Regions from separate parts of the Homo sapiens genome. Here all the other regions are linked to region 3. The links are contacts of gene promoters, found by promoter capture Hi-C in blood cells and fetal thymus (Javierre and others, 2016). All regions are on one chromosome and are shown on one strand. Each heading gives the region's core, a stretch centred on a gene start or on the middle of the fragment in contact. The rest is flanking DNA. Distances are from core to core; before and after follow the strand shown. Region 1 overlaps GCC2 (GRIP and coiled-coil domain containing 2). Region 2 has its middle 31 kb from the start of SULT1C4. Region 3 holds the start of LINC01594 (long intergenic non-protein coding RNA 1594). Region 4 has its middle 14 kb from the start of SULT1C4.

Region 1 (2,700 bases), core at 157-2,656, 250 kb after region 3:
GAAGTACAGAGTCTTAAGGAACAACATCAAAAAGAAATATCAGAACTAAATGAGACATTTTTGTCAGATTCAGAAAAAGAAAAATTAACATTAATGTTTGAAATACAGGGTCTTAAGGAACAGTGTGAAAACCTACAGCAAGAAAAGCAAGAAGCAATTTTAAATTATGAGAGTTTACGAGAGATTATGGAAATTTTACAAACAGAACTGGGGGAATCTGCTGGAAAAATAAGTCAAGAGTTCGAATCAATGAAGCAACAGCAAGCATCTGATGTTCATGAACTGCAGCAGAAGCTCAGAACTGCTTTTACTGAAAAAGATGCCCTTCTCGAAACTGTGAATCGCCTCCAGGGAGAAAATGAAAAGTTACTATCTCAACAAGAATTGGTACCAGAACTTGAAAATACCATAAAGAACCTTCAAGAAAAGAATGGAGTATACTTACTTAGTCTCAGTCAAAGAGATACCATGTTAAAAGAATTAGAAGGAAAGATAAATTCTCTTACTGAGGAAAAAGATGATTTTATAAATAAACTGAAAAATTCCCATGAAGAAATGGATAATTTCCATAAGAAATGTGAAAGGGAAGAAAGATTGATTCTTGAACTTGGGAAGAAAGTAGAGCAAACAATCCAGTACAACAGTGAACTAGAACAAAAGGTAAATGAATTAACAGGAGGACTAGAGGAGACTTTAAAAGAAAAGGATCAAAATGACCAAAAACTAGAAAAACTTATGGTTCAAATGAAAGTTCTCTCTGAAGACAAAGAAGTATTGTCAGCTGAAGTGAAGTCTCTTTATGAGGAAAACAATAAACTCAGTTCAGAAAAAAAACAGTTGAGTAGGGATTTGGAGGTTTTTTTGTCTCAAAAAGAAGATGTTATCCTTAAAGAACATATTACTCAATTAGAAAAGAAACTTCAGTTAATGGTTGAAGAGCAAGATAATTTAAATAAACTGCTTGAAAATGAGCAAGTTCAGAAGTTATTTGTTAAAACTCAGTTGTATGGTTTTCTTAAAGAAATGGGATCAGAAGTTTCAGAAGACAGTGAAGAGAAAGATGTTGTTAATGTCCTACAGGCAGTCGGTGAATCCTTGGCAAAAATAAATGAGGAAAAATGCAACCTGGCTTTTCAGCGTGATGAAAAAGTATTAGAGTTAGAAAAAGAGATTAAGTGCCTTCAAGAAGAGAGTGTAGTTCAGTGTGAAGAACTTAAGTCTTTATTGAGAGACTATGAGCAAGAGAAAGTTCTCTTAAGGAAAGAGTTAGAAGAAATACAGTCAGAAAAAGAGGCCCTGCAGTCTGATCTTCTAGAAATGAAGAATGCTAATGAAAAAACAAGGCTTGAAAATCAGAATCTTTTAATTCAAGTTGAAGAAGTATCTCAAACATGTAGCAAAAGTGAAATCCATAATGAAAAAGAAAAATGTTTTATAAAGGAACATGAAAACCTAAAGCCACTACTAGAACAAAAAGAATTACGAGATAGGAGAGCAGAGTTGATACTATTAAAGGTACCATTCATTTGAATTCTATTGTTTCAAATAAATTCTTAGTTCAACTCTACAATATATACGTTAAACATTTTTACACCTTGACGTCAAAAGTAAATTTTTACCATTTAAGCCCAAGTGGCAACTTTCTGAAAAGTGCATTAGACATTTCCATGTTGTATGTCCAGTTTATTACATTTATTTTTGGGGAGTTTTAGATACTTTTAAAATCTTGAGTTTATAGAAGATTAAATGATTAGGGGTTTAAATGTCTTGATCAGAAGTTTATTAGTCACTAGCAAAACAACTAAACATGGAAAAACTTGAGTTTCATTCTCGTGTGATATGCTTAGTTATTTTTTGTAAAGAGCACTTTTTAAGTAAGAGCTGTGGTGGTATTGCTAAAATTTTAGGGTTTTCTTTAAAAATTAAAGATTAAAAATCATTTAATCTTCTCCTTATTACACATGTATTTAATGTATCAGGTTGTTTATCTTGGCCTTGGTTACTACTTTTTTTTTTTTTAATAGTAAATGCCATATGCATAGTAAGGTCAGTATTAATTTTCTGGTCTAACAAGGGAAAATCTGTTGACCAAATTGGTTTCTGTAGGAATTCTCTTTGATAGTGATTTTCTTATGCTTAACATGATGGCCAGTTCATTATGGAAAATGAATTCTGATTCTGGTTTTTGTTTTGTTTTGTGTTTTTTTTTCCCCTGTAAAATCTAGGATTCCTTAGCAAAATCACCTTCTGTAAAAAATGATCCTCTGTCTTCAGTAAAAGAGTTGGAAGAAAAAATAGGTAACTATGGTTTTGCAGATGTTGTCACAATTAATTAGACAGATTCTTCTTAGTGTTAGAATAGATTGGGAAATATAGTAGCCAAATAATGAGTTGTTAAAAACACAGTTCGTAGCTGTCTTTTCCTCGAGCTCACATTCTTGCCCCTCTAACACCTGTTTGCCTTCTCTTTCAAAAGTGTTACTTTCTATTGTTTAACCCAAGCAAGATTGGTGTGATTTATAAATGGCTTCATGATTTATTTTGGATTTTTCATTCATTTAGCAAATTTTATTTAAATGCCCAACTATTCTAGACCCTGGTGATAGAAAAGTGGTTGAGGTACAGACCATGTGCTCAGAGATCTCACTGTTGTTTGAGGTGTGGACAAGATACAGTACTAACAGCATAGGAACTTAACAC
Region 2 (2,700 bases), core at 200-2,699, 190 kb after region 3:
ATCTGGCTTTTAGAATGTTCTTACTTGGATAAGAAATCTCCATATTACACATTTACCATCATTGTCTAGTGAGCACAAAATTTCTAGACACATTTCCTTGGTCCCCAGACATTCTGGCTTATGCAATATGAATCAACGGTCGGCTGGTGTCCCACTACAACTGTCCCAGGTTATTCTCACATCTAAGTGGAAAAAAATTAATTATTCCAATCAGTAAAAGACTCAAACAAGACAAAATGAGTATCAGACATGAAGAATACTTAGTAGTCTGAGCATTTTTATATGAAATATATAAATGATATGAAATATAATAGAGCAAATGCTCATGCACCTACCACGGACTTAAATAAAGCATCTAAGTACCTACCACAAACTTTAATAAAGCATAAAGCATTCCAGGGGAAGTTCCTTGGTACCACTCCCAGCAGCATCCCTTCCCCTCCTTCCTGAGTTATCTCCTTCTCTCTGAGTTTGGTGGTTCTCATTCCCATGCATTTGTTTATATTTTTAGTGCACATGCTTGCAGATTTAAATTATCCTACTATATGCATTCTTCAACAATTTTCTTTTTCTGTTCAACACTAGTTTGTAATATTCATCCATGTTCAAATATAGTCCTGGCTTATTTCTTTTCACCGCTGTGTAGCATTCCAGCATATGAATATAGTAACACAACTTATTTCTTTGTTTTATCACATACCACATTATTTACATATCTATTCTCCTATTGCTAGATGTTTAGGTTATTTCCAACAGTTTGCTATTACCACCAAAGCCACTTTAGACATTCCTCTTATGTCTCCTTGGGCACACACACAGTTTCCCTGGGGTATAAACCTAAGAGGGGAATTCCTGGATCATCATGCTATATACCTTCAGCATTGCTAGGTATTGCACAACTGTTTCAAAAGACATTAAACCTATTTCCACTTTTTTTACATGAAGCCTCACTCTGTCACTCAGGCTGGAGTGCAATGGTGCGATCTCGGCTCACTGCAACCTCTGCCTCCCAAGTTCAAGTGATCCTCCTGCCTCAGCCTCCTGAGTAGCTGGGATTACAAACACACACCACCATGCCCAGCTAATTTTTGTATTTTTACTAGAGATGGGTTTCACCATGTTGGGCAGGCTGGTCTCGAACTCCTGACCTCAAGTAATCCCCCACCTCAGTTTCCCAAAGTGCTGGGATTACTAGTGTGAGCCACAGCACCCGGCCTAGGTGAATATTTTTATCCTCTTATTTCATGACTGGTCAGTGGTTTAGAGCTGTCATTAGTTAAGTTCAATAGTCTTTGAAATTTTGTCCTTTGAGACGGAATTCTTGTTTCTTCTTTTGACTCATACGGGACTCAAAGCTTTCTGGTCTCCCCCATTTTTCTCACTTCATTCTTCACACTAAAATGCTCCCACCACTTCCCTCTCCCCTTTATAGATCTTAACAGCTCTCCACATTAAAATGCCTCCTGTTCTTTTTGCAGTAGTGAATTTCATAGATAATAAACCTAAGATACACAAAAAGGTAACTTTTTAAATTTTCCTATAACTAAGCTTAATTTCTGACAATCAGCCTACATGTTTTCCAAACCAGAAAATAAAACAAAATTAGTGTCCTGGTAAATGTGGTTAAATTAGTTATTACTAAGTTATTTCAGAAGTTGTTAGCCAAATTTAGAGTTCTGCTTTTCCCTCTCCTTCTTCCACGGAAAAAAAAATTTATGTTTGGAGGTAGAGGGTAGTTATTGGCATTACTGACAAACAACACTGAATTTACTAAAGTGGAGGCCATTTTTAACCTTGACAAGACCTATTTTGGTAGATTGATCACAAAAGTTCTGCCTGCAGAGACTGCAAGAGAGACAAGGAAATTATCTGGAGATGGTAAATATAGTCAACTATTTTAGGAGTTTACTATTACAGAGGGAAAAAATGGGCAGTATCTGAGGTAGAATGTGGCAGCAAAGTATAAAATGTGAGACATTATAGAAAAGAAAGGAAAACTGATGATGAGTGTGGGGTGGGAACAGACAGAACCCAGGAGTTCAAACAGTTCATCCCTAGTAACAGGAGGAAGGCAGGATATGCAGACACAGATGCAGATGGTCTGGCACAGGTAGCACCATTGTTAGGGTCAGAGTGCTGGAAGGAGTGCGTGGGAAAGATGGAAGATGGTGGTTAGTTGGTGAGATGCCTGTAATTGTGATTATGAAAAGTACCCGATTATTGGTAAAGACAAGTCCTAAGGCATGATCACTAAAGCAATCAACTGGGGGAGAGTGAAACACAGGAGCACTGAAGAAAAGAAGAGGTAGTCCGTGTGGTTATTAAAATCACCAAAAATTGAAAGGAGTGGCAACGAAGACTGAGGACCTAAACATGTCAAGATGTGAGGTGAAACATAAGTGACCCAGAAGCTGACAAGTGACCACAACAAGGAGGAGCAATCAATGAGTTAGTTTACCACCATACCACCACGGGTTTCCAGGGTCTGAATACATTCCACCCCTTGTGAACTGCCTTCTCTCTCTGAGTATGGCATCTCAAACACAGGCCCCCTTCTCTGAAATGGATACATTTGCAATGATGAGGTCTCCAGTCAGGCAGCCCACTTCAATTGTCTTCATTGCTATTCCCTCTTTGACATCTGAAGCAGGCCTAGGTTCTGTTGAGGCACACAGCCTCTACTCAGTCTTTCTCTCAGGA
Region 3 (2,700 bases), core at 160-2,659:
AATGTGGTTTCTCTCTCCTCTCTCCCAAAAATCCTGTGTGAGCATTTGAAATGCTTTTATTTGTGATACATATCTTCTAAACTTTCACAGAAATTTGAACATGTTTCTGACATGAATAATTGATTTTGAAATGTAAACTAACATGAGGTTTGCATGTTCTCCAATACTACTACTAATTTTTGAGTTATGTTAAAGATTTACAATAAAACATTCAATGTCCTTCCCAGATAACTTTGTGATTTAGTTCTAAGTTGCTTTATTATTTCCACATGCAAATACGTAATTTATTTCTTTGTCCATCAGCTGTTAATATTTTTGACTTTTTCCTTTTTATATAGCAGGAGATTAAAAGAACGTTTCATAAACACTCAAGTGCACCTTTAAATGCTGGGTAGGTCGAGTGGCATAGTGAAATATAGATATTGAGGAACATTATTATGTGTTTTCGTAAAACTAGACAGTGGACTCATTAGAATAATGTGGCAAAGAAATTTTAAAAATAATCCTTATAAAAGAAACATCATAAAAACAGAGAAAAAGGCTTAAATAGTATTACAGCTTTTATGTTACTTCTGCTTTCTATCTCTTCTTTCTCTGGCTCGCTTCTTAGATAATCTCATTCTCTCACATGGATTTTAAATTTCTGCAACATGGTACCATCTTCCAAATTTTTATCTCCACCTCAGATCTCAACCCTGAATTCCTAAATTGTCAGCCCAACTGCCTACTTCATATCTCTACTTCCTTGTTTTATATACATTTCAAACAGAAAAAGTCAAACCCACAAACCTAATTCACCCACTGTCTTCTTCATCTCAATTAAAAGGCAACTCCATCTTTTCAGTTGCTCAGCCAAAGCTTATTCTATTTCTCTCTCTCTTGCACACTACATCCAATCCATACATCATTTGGCTCTGACTTCAAACTATATCCAGAACATGACCTCTTCTTATCAACATTACTGTGACCAACCTCCTCTGAGTCACTGGCGTGTCTTCCCTGAAGACTTGCAATCACAACCTAATGAATATCCCTCCTTCTATGTCATAATTACCCAGTCACCATATGATCCTAAATGGATCACATCACTGTGCTGATCAAAATGCTGCAGCAGTGCCCCAACCCATTCAGTCTAAGCTGAATTGTATCACGGTCTCCTGTCCTACACCATCTGTCCCCAGGTCCCTTTCTAACCACCTTCTAACCTTTGCACACTCACTTCTCTTCAGACCTAGTGACTTCCCCACTCTTCCTTGAACTCACCTAGTGTAGTCCTGCCATAGAGACTTTGGCCTGGCATTTCCTCTGCCAAGAATGCTCTTCGATCAAACAGCTACATGACCCTCTCCTCATATCCTTCAATCTTTACCCAGAAAGCATCATTTCAGTCATGTCTTCCCTGATCATTCTACTTACAATCCAGCACTTCCTGGTTCCCCTTATTCTGCCCTAATCATTTCCATCACAAGTATCATCTCTTCTAACATACTCTACACTTTGCTCACTAAATTGGAGGCTCCAGGAAGACCATTCTCAGCCTCTGCCCATTGCCCAACAATCACATGGCCAGAACTAGAGATGATTTACAAAGGCAACATTCAAGGCCTCCCACAGGTATCCAGTGGACTGAATCTCAGAATTCTACCAGCATTGTTTTCTCACAAGAGATGCCTAGGTTATGGTTGGATCTCACATGGAAAAATATACAGGATGAGTATTCCCTGGGAAAGAGATTGCCATGGTTTGGACATTTGTCCCTTCCAAACCTTATGTTGAGATCTGATTCTAAATGTTGGAGGTGGGGTCTAACAGAAGGTGTTTGGGTGATAGTGGGAGACCCCTCAGGAATAGATTAATACCCTCCCCAGGAGTGAGTGAGCTCTTGCTCTATTCCTTCCCACAAGAGTTGGTTGTTAAAAAGAGCCTGGAAACTCCCTTCTCTTGCTTCCTGTCTTACCATGTGATTTTTGGATGCACTGACCCCCTTCACCTTCTGCCAGAAGTGGAAGCAGTCTGAGTCCCTCACCACGTGTCCAGTCTTCCAGCCATCAGAATTATGAGCCAAATAAACATTTTTTAAAATAAATTTCCCAGCCTCAGCTATTCCTTTATAGTGACACTAAATAGTCTAAAGACGGGGTGGTGGTCAAAATTCAAGCATCTTTCACCATAATGAATTGAATGTGCTGTTCATTAGTGAGACTCTGAAGACAATCTGACTTTTGACCTCTTGGGTAAAAGGTACACAAATTTAACCTTAATCATTGCACTTAATGGCCAGACTTTTTAAAACCATGAGTTTAAAAGTGTGATTCTTAGGGAGCTAGCCTGATTCCCCCTTAGAATTTTTCATAAGTCACTGTGACAACTGCAAAATATCATCAGCACAAAGACACAGCATAAAAATGAGTTACAAATACACGTCCTTAAAGGAAATAAATTCACTACTTTCTTGTCCAAGATTATGGCTAAAATTACAGCTCATTGGCACAGATTTTATATCTATCTATCTATCTATCTATCTATCTATCTATCTATCTATCTATCTATGTAAAACACTGATGAAACTGAAAAACTTGGAACAGTATCTGGTCCAAGGTAGCTGCTTAATAAACGTCTGATGAATTGAATGGAAACTGGAAGACTATCATTTATTATATGAGTCTTTAAAGTAACAATGAAGTTTCTATTTAAATGTAA
Region 4 (2,700 bases), core at 123-2,622, 150 kb after region 3:
ATGACTCAGGGAAGGCAGAGCTTACTTTCAGCTTCTCTAGATGGCTGGACTCCTGTTTTTGCTCTGAATTTAAATGGGACAGGTGGCTAGGCTCTGCTATCTGGCAAAACTACTGGCTGAGCTCTGCCATCAAGCCGAGCCAGTCAATTGGCACTACAATGGCTTCTAATCAAGCAGGGCCACAGGGTGTATTCCCTGGTCAGATGGTACTGATATTTGAGTTCAGCAGCTAAATAGTGTTGCAGGAGGGACCCTGAGGTTAGGTGGAGTCACTGATTGGGATGGATGGAACCAGCTGCTATGCTTAATAGCAATGGATGGTTGAGGTTTGCTGCCCTGCCTAAATGAGTCCTTGGGGTGGGCTTTGAGGTTGGGCTGAGAACTGTTTAAACTCCTGTGTGTGGCAGATCTAGCCTTGGCTCTTTGCCAAAGTTTGCTGCATCAGTTGTCCCCCTCTGTGGGTGGGGTTTGGGGATGGGCTTTGAGGATGCTTCAAATGCTGTTTGAACTTCTGGGTGTGGCAGAACTAGTCCCTACCCTTTACTGAAATTTGCTGCAGTGATCATCTTCCTCCTTAAGTGGAATCCCTGGGTAGGGTCTAAGGCGAGTCATGGAGGCTGACCATCTAGGGACTCAAGCTAGGTAGAGCATTACATCACATCTGTTAGCTGGTACCTCTGATTGGGCGCCACCACTGACAGGTACACAGAGTTACCACCAATACTGCTTTGTTACCACCTCCTTGCTTTGTTTCTACCTCACCCCAAGTGTTCTAGCCACGCTGTTTCCCACTGTATTTCCCATGAAGTAAAACTGGAATGGGCTTTCTGGGAAGCATCTCAGAAGACTAGGGAAGTTGGATGTCCTCCTCTGGCTCTACTTCTCACTGTAGAAATCATGGGTCCTGGGGAATCCCCTCTGTGTGGCACTGTGCCAATTTGGGGGAGTGGAAAGGGTGACATGGTTAATGTGAGACTATTTCTATTATCTCTTTAATGTCGTTTTTATTCAGTTCTGTGGACAATGCAGGAAACTCCAGCTTATACCCAAAGTTTGGGATTTTTACCAAGGTGTTCTTTGTTGTCAGTTGAACTTTCTGTTGGCAGTAGTGAAGCCTGGGACCTCCTATTCTGCCATTTTGCTGATATCATCTACCTGCAGCTTTTAAAGTGTTTCACTACAGTTTCCTGAAAACCACTTCTGCTTTGGTCTTCATGATATTTTCACTGCCTTGGCTTTCAAAGCTTCGTGCTAGCTTCTCCTTTTCTCCTTTTTCCATGAAGCTGGCTTCTAAACCGGCTCTGTTAGCAACATCTACTTTTCTTTCCACAGTCAGTCAGTCATAAAATCCTGTCTGTTTTTCTTGTGTCCTGTCTTTTGAATCTCTCTTTCCTTTCAATTCCACTGTCAAAAGTCAAATCCAGGCCCTCACTGACTCGTGCCTTAACAATTGTCTTTTCATTGGCTCTCCTTCCTCCAAGGTTTTTCTCCAATTCTTTGAAAAGCTTATTGTCTTAAGCACTGCCTTGTTGCCTTTTTCCTGCCCAAAAACTTTAATGTTCAGGCACCCAAGAGTGTCTGATTACTGCTATGTCCCCAAAATATATATAACTACCACTTATCAATTTAAAATATAAATAAATAAGCTTCAGGAAGACTTAGTTGAATAGGAAACATTCTTGGATTTTTTTCTCATATTCATAGTTCTTTAGTGATTCTGATAAAAGAACCTATAGAGAGAAAAAGTAAGCACCCGAAAACAACCAAAAGTTGTTCTCACTTAGAGGATACCTCAGAATCCTAATCCTGTTATCCTTCATTATCTAATTCTCTTAAGTCTGCTTTTAATAAGAAAGATTTGCAAATTCTCATCCCCTAAAATGTTATTTTCCAATATATGCAATTTTTCTAACATGAATCACTTCTTTTCCCTTCATTTGACCATGGCAGTAATCTAAAGGAGAGGACAGAGGAAGAAAAGCAAGGGGAATCTCAGATCTGTTTTACTATTTGCTAATATGTAGAAAATGAAATAAGTAGAGGTTCCTCTTCAAAGGTACTTTCCTCCAAGTCTAATTGAGAATGGATAGTAACCTCTCTTAGAAGCAAAATTTAGTCAAAGTCCTGTGCTAATATTCTTAAACATCTGCTAGCCATAATAAAGAAATCAATATACTCTGTGTTCTCAGCTCCCACATTCTAGCCTAGATATTTGCCCTGGCATGCCTGAACCGGTCCAAGCAAGCATTAGGTCATAACCAATTTCTCTTCCTTATTTGGAAGTGTTTTTGCCTCTCTCAGCATTCCGCAATTTGCCTGTTTTGGGAAGTTCTAAGTTGCTAGCCAATCAAGTGGAGTACAGAATGTGAGGTCCTGTTCCAGCCAAAGGAAACCAGACACAGCAGTAGGGTGGACACGTCAGGTTATAAATGACCCCGTCTCCTTTGTTCATGTGTGCTCTCATGGCAAGACTGCCAGAGAACAGCACCCTTTCTGCAGAAAGTAAACTAGCCTTGCTGAGAGATCCTTTGTCTCAATGTTGATTTTTGCGACACCGAGCACCCATTCCCAACATAATACAATCATTAAAATTAGACTTACAGATTTTCTGCAAATTTCTAGTTATCTTTGCTAGCCTTGCTCCTTATTCCCACTTATAATCTAGTTTTTCTGTTCATCTTTTGCTAAAATTGCCATTAT

Evidence for each region. The method cuts DNA at HindIII sites, captures the fragments that hold promoters and counts their contacts. A CHiCAGO score of 5 or more calls a contact.
Region 1: a contact is called between a fragment that was not itself captured here and the fragment with the promoter of LINC01594 in region 3, in 3 of 17 cell types (M0 macrophages, M1 macrophages and M2 macrophages). The highest score is 6.5, in M0 macrophages.
Region 2: a fragment that was not itself captured here is called in contact with the fragment with the promoter of LINC01594 in region 3 in 2 of 17 cell types (M1 macrophages and M0 macrophages); the score reaches 6.4 in M1 macrophages.
Region 4: a contact is called between a fragment that was not itself captured here and the fragment with the promoter of LINC01594 in region 3, in 1 of 17 cell types (M1 macrophages). The highest score is 6.2, in M1 macrophages.

What each region holds. Positions count from the first base shown.
Region 1 is chr2:108,470,602-108,473,301 of GRCh38, forward strand. It overlaps GCC2 (GRIP and coiled-coil domain containing 2), which reads left to right. Exons shown (of 23, transcript NM_181453.4): 6 at 1-1,515; 7 at 2,226-2,298. Among named protein-coding and RNA genes, the nearest start is that of GCC2, 23 kb to the left of the region's middle. The HindIII fragment of the contact is 8,054 bases long and covers 1-2,700 here.
Region 2 is chr2:108,407,194-108,409,893 of GRCh38, forward strand. No RefSeq gene overlaps it. Among named protein-coding and RNA genes, the nearest start is that of SULT1C4, 31 kb to the left of the region's middle. The HindIII fragment of the contact is 193 bases long and covers 1,354-1,546 here.
Region 3 is chr2:108,216,432-108,219,131 of GRCh38, forward strand. LINC01594 (long intergenic non-protein coding RNA 1594) reads right to left here and starts at 1,410. Exons shown (of 5, transcript NR_131251.1): 1 at 1,264-1,410. The HindIII fragment of the contact is 2,331 bases long and covers 857-2,700 here.
Region 4 is chr2:108,362,589-108,365,288 of GRCh38, forward strand. No RefSeq gene overlaps it. Among named protein-coding and RNA genes, the nearest start is that of SULT1C4, 14 kb to the right of the region's middle. RefSeq lists an enhancer at 1,800-2,700. The HindIII fragment of the contact is 261 bases long and covers 1,243-1,503 here.